Regions from separate parts of the Homo sapiens genome. Here region 1 is linked to region 2. The links are contacts of gene promoters, found by promoter capture Hi-C in blood cells and fetal thymus (Javierre and others, 2016). All regions are on one chromosome and are shown on one strand. Each heading gives the region's core, a stretch centred on a gene start or on the middle of the fragment in contact. The rest is flanking DNA. Distances are from core to core; before and after follow the strand shown.

Evidence for each region. Contacts are between HindIII fragments. The CHiCAGO score rates a contact against its expected background, and 5 or more counts as called.
Region 1: a fragment that was not itself captured here is called in contact with the fragment with the promoter of MYLK4 in region 2 in 1 of 17 cell types (M1 macrophages); the score reaches 5.0 in M1 macrophages.

The regions. Positions count from the first base shown.
Region 1 is chr6:2,103,099-2,107,922 of GRCh38, reverse strand. The region is part of intron 4 of GMDS (GDP-mannose 4,6-dehydratase); the gene reads left to right. Among named protein-coding and RNA genes, the nearest start is that of GMDS, 140 kb to the left of the region's middle. The HindIII fragment of the contact is 318 bases long and covers 3,348-3,665 here.
Region 2 is chr6:2,749,284-2,754,272 of GRCh38, reverse strand. MYLK4 (myosin light chain kinase family member 4) reads left to right here and starts at 3,351. Exons shown (of 13, transcript NM_001012418.5): 1 at 3,351-3,537; 2 at 4,867-4,989. The coding sequence starts at 4,979. RefSeq lists a silencer at 1,484-1,778. The HindIII fragment of the contact is 6,360 bases long and covers 1-3,682 here.

The DNA.
Region 1 (4,824 bases), core at 2,257-4,756, 650 kb after region 2:
ATAAAGATTCCTTATGAGCAGAATGCTTTACTTGTTAAAGAGCAGTGAGTACTTTGAAAGCCTGAGGATTAATAAGGTATGTTTGCATTTAGACCTAATATCCCTGCATACTATAGTGCCTTTTGTGTCTAGAAGAATTAGCTCTCTTACAGGTACAGTGAGTAGGTGCTTGGAGCAAAGACTGGATACTTTTAATCTCTGTGAATAGGTGATGTGGATGGAACAAACCTCTACGGTCAAGTAATGTTACGGTTTTGTTTGTTTTTGTTCTACAAGCTCCCATTTCTTTCTGATCAGTCCTGTTGTCCCTTCACCTGTGTGGACACAGCCCCCGTGATAACTTAATACAGTTTGTAACCACTTTTATTTGTTACAGCGCAAAATTGCAATACGAAACCTTTTTCATTTTATAATTTCATGTTTAGGTTTATAATGAATAAACACCACGATTGTAAATATGACTAGTTTATTCCCATGGTTCTTAGGAAGAAGTTGAGCATGTTTGACTTTGTATTCATCAGGGTAGGCAGGAGTGTATGCTGTTGGTGGGTGCCTGTGTGTCATCTGGCTCAGATTCTTCTTGGAAGCCTGTTGTAGATTTGAGCAATTGAATTCAAATCTAAAACCACTTAAAAAGTCCTTTATAGTCCATTAAGAATTTATATGAGAGAGAACACTCTATGAAAGTTCTCCTCTCCCTGTTCAAACAGATTGTTCTGTTTTATTAGAGCTAGGTGGTATTGTAATTTTGATAACAGCTAATAATGTTTGGAATTTTGCTCATAATTAATTAGTGGACCACACAAAGCTATGCTTGTTGGGTTTTTCACCCTTAATGTGTTTATAAATAGTGGCTTGTTTACTAAATAAAATCCAGAGTAGCATTATTTTAGTATTGCAACATTATTTTATATATATTAAGCTAAAATTAATACAAATAGCTAAATGAACATATTTACCACAATATTAATTTCTAGATGCTATTTATAAAAATGGTGGGTAAAGAGTAAGTTAGTAAATACACTGTGAGTAAAACTTTTCCTTTTTTTTTTCTTTTTTTGAGACAGAGTCTCGCTCTGTCGCCCAGGCTGGAGTGCAGTGGCACCATATTGGCTCACTGCAATCTCTGTCTCCTGAGTTGAAGCAATTCTCCTGCCTCAGCCTCCCGAGTAGCTGTGATTACAGGTGCCCACCACCACGCTCAGCTAATTTTTGTATTTTTAGTAGAGACAGGGTTTCACCATGTTGGCCAGGCCGGTCTCCATCTCCTGACCTCAGGTGATCCACCTGCCTTGGCCTCCCAAAGTGCTAGGATTACAGGTATGAGCCACCTTGCCCAGCCAGGATTCTTGATTAGATTACAGTATGTAATTTACATAAATTAAGGTGAAGACATAAATGATACTTTGTTTAATACCATAATGTATCTCCCCCGCCCCCAAAATTTGTATGTATATTTAAAAAAATTAGACTTAATACCTCTTTTAAAATACATAGTAAAGCTTGATATTAAATATGATTTCTACTTTATCCTTACATATGGCGGAGTTTATAAAATTTGCCTTGTTAAAGTTGGATCCTTAAAGTTAGTACGGTAAAATAAAATGAAATCTTTTCTAGTTCAAAAAATGTAATGCGTAAGAATTTTTTCTGCTACTTTGTACTGTAAATCATTAATTGGATACCTTACCAGTGCCAGCAAGAAATAAATCATATGAAAATGGTTTGAATGTATCAGATTTCTATTTTTTGAAAAATGTCTAAGATCGAAGATGAGTGATTAGTAGGTATCACTTTTACTCTTTGAAAAATGGCAGAGTATGTTCCTAGTTTGGAAATGTTAATTTAAAGTGTAATCCACAGCGAATTTAGATTTGCTTTATTTATAAGAAACCGCACATCAAGCCTTGGTTTGGCATGTTACAGCTCCGTTAACAGTTTATCGTTAAGAGACTGATTCTTTAGAAAATGTTGCACCCTGAAAGGTTAGCTCAACTTGTGTACGGTTCTAGTGTTGATAATTAAAGTGAAATGTTTGCCAGAGAAGAGGAGTATTGTGTTGATAGCAATTATGCAGTTATTCTAAATGGGAGCTGATAGAGAAGAGGCAGCAGTTTCGCACTTCTTATGCTGTTTGGTATATCAGGGTAAAAAAACCTGTTCCTGAGTTTCTTTTCTACTCCCATTCCATATATTTCATTGGTGCCAGGTTTTTATTTTTTTAGTATATAACAGTAAAGTCTTTTAGAAATTAGTGGTATTGACAAAATAAACCTTTTAGGACATTCTTCAAGACTGTCAACCCACATTATTAGTACTGATGGTAAATAACCAGTCTTTACCCTGAGTGCATGGATTAATTGTTACATGGTGTAGGGGACAGGGTTTTTTTGTTTGTTGTAACATTCCCATATGGCTCACACTAGAGTGCCTTTCTATTTGTTTGTTTGACACTAACTTATCTTAGGACAATTCAGAGCCAGTATGGTCAGTCCTAAAGGGGAGGCTGAGAGGCTCTTTAGTGTGGTCTGATACATTTCTCCATCTTCCCTAGAGAAGAAGTGTTTGAATATTTGACAGAAGTTAGTCGATTATTATGTCACAATATTTGAGTTATTGGTTGTTTACATAATGTGTGTAAATAATTTTTTCATCTGTTTGCTTTGCATTTGCTTTATATTAAATATTAGGAAAGTGTTTTGGTTTAGTGATCATTTCTTTTTTTTTTTTTTTTTTTTTTTGAGACGGAGTCTCGCTCTGTCACCCAGGCTGGAGTGCAGTGGCGTGATCTCCGCTCACTGCAAGCTCCGCCTCCCGGGTTCACGCCATTCTCCAGCCTCAGCCTCCCGAGTCGCTGGGACTACAGGTGCCTGCCACCACACCTGGCTAATTTTTTGTGTTTTTGGTAGAGACGGGGTTTCACCATGTTAGCCAGGATGGTCTCGATCTCCTGACTTTGTGATCTGCCCGCCTCAGCCTCCCAAAGTGCTGGGATTATAGGCGTGAGCCACCGCACCCGGTTAGGTTTAGTGATCATTTCACTCTATCATTTGGCAAGATATTTAGATTGCAATTTAGCAAAAATTAATTTATCTTATTGGAATTATTTACTTAAGTGACTTAAAATTTCAACTTTTGTTTTTCAAGCATAAGTTCATCAAATTTGCCAAATTAAAATTTATCAGCAGCAATAATGGAAAAAATCTATTGGTTATGTTCAATAATATTATGTTAAATAATGTAACTTCAGTCATTTTTCAGTTTTATAAATTTGCTTCACAGAGAAAGAAATGGAAATTTCCAATAAGCTTTACGTTTGTGTAGGGAAGCAAATTATCCCTAAAGCTTCCTTCTTCATCCCTCTAGATTAGAGACATGATTGTTTTTGAAACTGAGGAAGTTTCTGGTGTGTTTAAGAATGTTGTGCTCTTTTATACACATAGATGGCAGCAAAGAATTAGACAAAGGAAGTGAACCTTGCAGTTGTAGTGAAAGATGAGTGACAGTACAAACTGACTCCATCAGCATAGCTGCCTGTGTCTCATACTTAAACATAAAATAAGAAAGAAAGCTACTATTGATAACACAAGAATATAGGAGAACGAAGAAGGCTCTGAGAAGCTGTAATACACTGAATTTCTGGACAAATCCCAGGTGGGGAAGCTTAATCTTTTAAGGTATGTCATCCACTCCTGTAAGATGATTGAAATCAGCTAAGATAATATGCATGTCAAAATAAAGAGACAGTGAAGGGCTGAGGGGCAGTAGGGCCAGAGGGAAGTAAAAGAGAAACCACGCACAAGTTGCAGCGGCAAGCAATAGCCTGCTGCCTGCGGGCACTGTGGAGTTTGGCCTGCATGTCTCCTCTTTAGTTAAGCAAGTTACAAAGAGGAAATGTCAGTCCACGAATCAGGCAAACATTCCCTGGGAACGTTTGCTCAAATGTCAGCATTTTAGAAAATAGAACTGTAGTCTATTATGGTTCAGTCCCCATACTGGGTTTGCTGTTAAGTGCACAAGCACAAATATATTGCTTAAGAATGCATTTGCTATTAACAAGTCATTTTATGTCTTAATTAACATTCCTAAATAATGACATAATCACTATAAAAGATGACAGTCATCATTATAATTAATATTTAATATGTGTGTGCTTCCGAGGACCTTTCTGTGGCTTCTCACAAATTTCCAAGGTAATTTTCAAGTTTTAGAATTGCATTTGGTGAGATCACAGTCATGAGGATCTAATGAAGTAGAATCATATTTAGTAGAAACTGAGATTCGGAAGTGAGTTGTAGAAAAGCAATTTGTAACATGTCCTTAACAATCCCATCACCTCAGTATCTTACTAATTATAAACGAAATAAGGGCTTCTTAATGCCACTAGAGTAATGCTAACATTGTTTAGGAAAACATTTCTCCTACCCTCTATTTTTTTTCTGGTCTACTCTCAGGAATTTTAGTACCACAGACTAATCTCTGGGTCACAAAATTTATTCTAAAGGTGTGTATAACAACGTGCTTAAAAGCAGTATCTGGCAAGTCTCTCTTGTGACAGCAACGTTATTTCTGACATAATTATTTTCTTAGTAAATTTGATATCTTAACAACCCCTTCCCTCATTTCTGAGTTCAAAAAATAACACTTAATATAATTTATTTCTCATACTTAATAAAAGCTTACTTGAGAGCATATTGCCATTCATCCTCTAGCTGCTTCCCCCAAATGAGGTTAGAAGGGAATGCGGTTTGCGAGGGTATAAGGTGGTTTCCAGCATCGTACGCTGTGTACTGTAATGGGCCTCAATGTTGTTTTAATGAAGCA
Region 2 (4,989 bases), core at 2,102-4,601:
TTGGTTGTTTTCAGTTTTTGGCTATTGTGAATAATGCTGCTGTGAACATTCATGTGCCATGGTTTCTGTGTTCATATGTTTTCATTTCTCTTGGGTAGATACCTAGGAGAAGAATTTCTAGGTCATATGGGAAATAACTTTTTAAGAAATTGCCAACCTCTTTTATAAGACACCTGTATCATTTTATATTCCCATCAACATATTTGGTGAGGGTTCCAGTTTTTCCACATCCTTGTCAACACTTGCTTTTCTCTGTCTTTTTTTTTTTTTTTTTGGTAGAGATGGGGTCTTGCTATGTTGCCCAGGCTGGTCTCAAACTCCTGGACTGAAGTGATCCTCCTGTCTTGGCCTCCCAAAGTGCTAGGATTACAGGTGTGAGCCACCACACCCAACCTATCTTTTATTTTTTTCATTATTATTACAGCTCTCCTAGTGGGTGTGAAATGATGTTTCCTTGTGGTTTTAATTTGCATCTCCCTGATGACTGATTTTGAGCATTTTTTTTCATGTGCTTATTAACCATTTTTATATCTTCTTTGGTGAGGTCTGTTTTAATCTTTTGTCCATTTAAAAAACTGGAATGTTTTGTCATATATTATTAAGTTGTATATGCTAGATGCAGTCCTTTGTCAAATATGTGACTTCACAGTATTTTCTATACATCTGTAGCTGGTCTTTTCATTTTCATAATAGTGTCTTTTCATTTTCCTAATAGTGTTTTTTCAAAGGCAAACGTTTTGAATTTTGAAGAAGTGCAATTTATCAATCTTCGTTTTTATGGGTCGTATTCAGTGGTGATTTTTGAAAGTAAGGAAGTTCTATTGTAATGTGGGTAACAGGGATGCAGTAGCTTTTTATTTGCATTTGGGTATTTGTACTGTTGCTCCGCTTTTGTGTGTAAACATTCAAGAGGTCTTGTTCTGGAAACATTCAGAACGCTGTGTAGAAACAAAAACTCTTAGTGTAATCCAGCCGGGTTTCAATGCCAACCCGTAGACAAGAGCTGTCGACGATGTTTCTTCATGTGGCTCCTTTGACAACACAGTCTCTTACTCAGCTAATGGAAATGTCCCTTGAAAAAAATCAAGGGATTCTTTTCCATGGCTCTGTAGGGTGCTGTTTTCCTGATGTTGGTATTTTTTAGAGAAGTATAACTCCAAAATATGGAAATACTGGAAAAGTGTTCCTGGGCCTGCTCATATTCCTCACTAATGAATTTTTCCGGGTATAAGAGCATCTTTAAGCATGCAGAACATTTTATGGGTATGGACTTAGGATCCTGAGGCTAGGCTGATAGACCAGAATGAGTATGCATGTATAACCTGTTTTTTTGTGGTCAAGGGTTGTGCCAGCAGTGTGCTTGTCCTGTATGCCATCGGAAGCTGGGAACAGTGTGATGCAGCAGAACCAGACAATCAGTCACTTTTAGCATGGATTATTTTAATTGACTTGCTTTTTAGGGCAAGTAGACACAATTAAAGATCATTCTATCTAGTCATTAATCAAATATGTATTGAATGTATATTGTGCATGGAAATGTCTATATGTGGATGCCTTCCAAATTCTTATCTCCAGCCTACACCCCTCCCCGGAACTCCAGTTTCTATCTCCACAGCCTATTCAACTTGAACGTTTAATGGACTTGCCAAAGACTTCATGCCTGACCTTTCCCTCCAGAGTTGCCCTTCCCACAGCCGTCTCCATCTCAGTTAATGTTCACTCTGTCTTTCAAGTGCTCAGAAGAAAATATGCAAAGGTGTCTACCATCTTTCTTTCATACCCCATACCCAATCTATCATAAATCCTACTGATTCTAAATGTACTGTGGAATCCTGCATGGGATTCTGGAACAGAAAAGGGGCATTTGGGGAAAAAAAAAACCCAGCAACAATAAAGTATTGAGTTTAGTTAATAATAACGTTCACCATGGTTCATTAATTGTGACAAGTATACCATACCAACGTAAGATGTTAAAAACAGAGGATTCGGGGTGCAGGGCAAGGGGAACTCTGAACTACCTTTGCACCTTTTCTGTAGATGTAAAACTACTCTAAAAGGAAAAGTTTATTACAAAAAAATAAGCTAAGGAGCAGATTCTCCTGGCCTCTGGCTCACTCAAGCCTGTGGTTGGTTTGCTGGAGCCAACGAGATAGGAAGTCTGCTTTTGCGTGGTGGTGGTCCGGGTGGAGGATGTGGTTGGATCAGCAGCAGCCCACACACATCTTGCCTCTGGCAGGGCATTTGTTGCCTTATCAGTACTTCTACACAATTTAATTATACTAACAAAATTGGTAACCTCAAACCAGCTTAGTCTTTGTATAATACTTTTGTCAGATAATTTATCTCCACAAATTTATAGTTCCACTTCATTACTTTTGCTGAAGAACAAAGCTCTCCAATCTGAAAAATAACAAGCGTTTTGTGTTTTAAAAAAGATTTTGCTGTAATTCATTAATACTACATAAAATGGAAAAATATGTATTTTTATTTCACATGGAATGCATCGATCTGAATTAAAAATAAGGTTTTTTTTTTAAAAGAAGCAGAAGAGCAGCAGAGGCTGGTGTTAGAATGGGGCATAGAGGGGCTAACACAGGCTCCAAATAAGAGGTGACAATTGGCCAGGCCCTGAAAAATTGCAGGGTTTTCAAGACTGCAAAGTCCAGCCTCTGGGCAATCAAAGTTTTATGCCACTTCAGTGAATCTAGGGATGCACTACTGTGAGAGTCGGGCAGGTGGGTTGAAATTCCCCTTTCTTGGTCTGTGCAGAAAACTACGGATGAAGTCCTAGTGTTGCTTAAGGAGAATTTATGAAAAATTTATTCCTGTTTCCTGGATGCCTGTGCCTTTGACCTTTCCCTAGAGCTAGAAATGGTTGGAGACTTTGCAAACATCTTTAAGAACTGAGAAAAATAAAACAAACTTGCTAACTGCTTTCAGAAGATCTTCTATATTGCAGTTGGATATGCTCAAAGCGTAAGATGGGCAAACAGAGGTGGCTGTGGGGTTGCCACACCTGGCATTTTCCCTACTGGGGGAAATTTAATGAGCACTTAAATAATCCTGAGTCTGAAAGGGGCAGAAGGTCCAGGCAGATGATTGCCGAGGACAAATCTAGCTTTGTAAATCCGAGAGTATTGACACAATGATACGAGGGAAAGGTGAAGGTGATATTTCATCCAGTGTTCCCGGTTCATCCTCTCCTTACCTGACCTCTGAAATGGAGCCATTGGCCTTGAAAAGCCTGGTGTCTAAAATTAATATTCTTCCCCATCTGACTAAGAAGGCAACAGCTGAGCAACGTGAGATCAAGAGCCATATTAATTTAAACAGGGGCTGAAAGTGGCATTTGAGAGAGAAGATACTTCCTCTCGTAGTGGACACTTGTCTTTTCAGAAGATTTATACGACTGAGAGTCAAAACTTTTACCAGAGACTTTCATAGTCAGTTTGAATTCTGCAAAATTTCTCTTTATCTTCTGGAATGTATGCTCTAGACTTGGAGTGGCTCAAGCTCTTCGATGTGATCCTATCAATGGTAATTATCTTTGTTTATTGTTATAACCTCTCAAATCTCCTCCCCTTTTTTCTAAGTTACCTTCAATAACAAATTGTACCAAACTTCAGGTAGAGCTTAATGTTTAATATTTCTTTGCAAAATTATTGTATCTTAATCCTAAGCTTTTGTTTTAATACATTAATTTTGTGTGGCTTCCTGATCCAACTTGAGTTTCATCTGCAATTAACCATAGTATTTTAGTCGTAGTTTGCCTTAGAAATAGCCATGCATTTGTTTCCTTATTTTAATAATTTTTTCAGGGCAATTTGAAAGAATGCTAAGAATGATCTGTAATATATCTGTAGAGCTCTGGTTGATAGTATTAATATTTGCATTTTTATTTGTTTGAATGTAAGCTCTTTATGTGGATAAGTATAATTTGTTAGAGCAGTGAATTTTAAACACTTTGGAACTCAAGAGTATCATTTTACTATAGGAACTGACAAAACAAAATATTAAGTTTTCTGATGAGAATCACAATACGGTTTTTAAGCGGAGAAAATGCTCGAAGAGGCGCTTTTCGGAAAATCTCCACCAGGGGGCCTCAGTTGTCAGCCATGCGGAACTAGCACAAATTCAAATGTCTCTCCCTCTCCCTGCCTCTCTATGCAATCAAGTGATGTGTACATATAGACATGCGTATATGTCTCTAGTATCAAAGCGAATTATGTATGCTGCATTACTTCATTTGCGAGGAAAGTATTTTAAGGAGAGTGAAAAGACTCTGAACTTCTCGGTACATAGCTGTTAATGCAGATGCAAGGAAAGGTATCTGGGAGTGCTGTCCACGTGAGAAGACTGTAAGGAAATAAATTTCTTTTCACAAATAAACACCACACATTTTAAGGCATAGGTAGAGAAGAGTTCTGGAAAAGGACTCATTCGGGAGCGATCCCTCTGCAGAGGGAGGCCAGGGGAAGCAGAGAGACCCCTTCTGTGATAAGCCCTTCCCACGGGGCTGCAAAACCTGCGGTTCCAATTAAACCCAAAGATACTTTATAATTTACATCCAAGCTGGCCACTTGATCTACGGCTTGTTTTGTGCAATAAGGAGCATATTTCATCACCAGTGAATCTTGACATTGCTTCTTACTGTTTGCTTTTGTAGTTTTAAAGTGAAAAAATTTTTTTTCCTTTTAAAGTTCCAATGTTGGAAACTCAATATGAATGTTAGTATTTCTTTTCCTGATTTTGGATCCTCTCTCCAGTTTAAACAGAAGGGACTTCCAAATTCTCACTGGTCATTTTCTCAAGAAGTCAAATGCATGAATACGTGATGAGAACTTTTTGTGTTTCCTTTCTTTGCAGTCAAGAGAAAGAAGCACTGAAGAGTCATAATTGTGTCCTGATTTATAAATCGGAGACAGAGGGAGACGAAAACCACACTCCAGAAAGTAGCTTAATCGGACTCACTACTAAGATGTTAAAAGT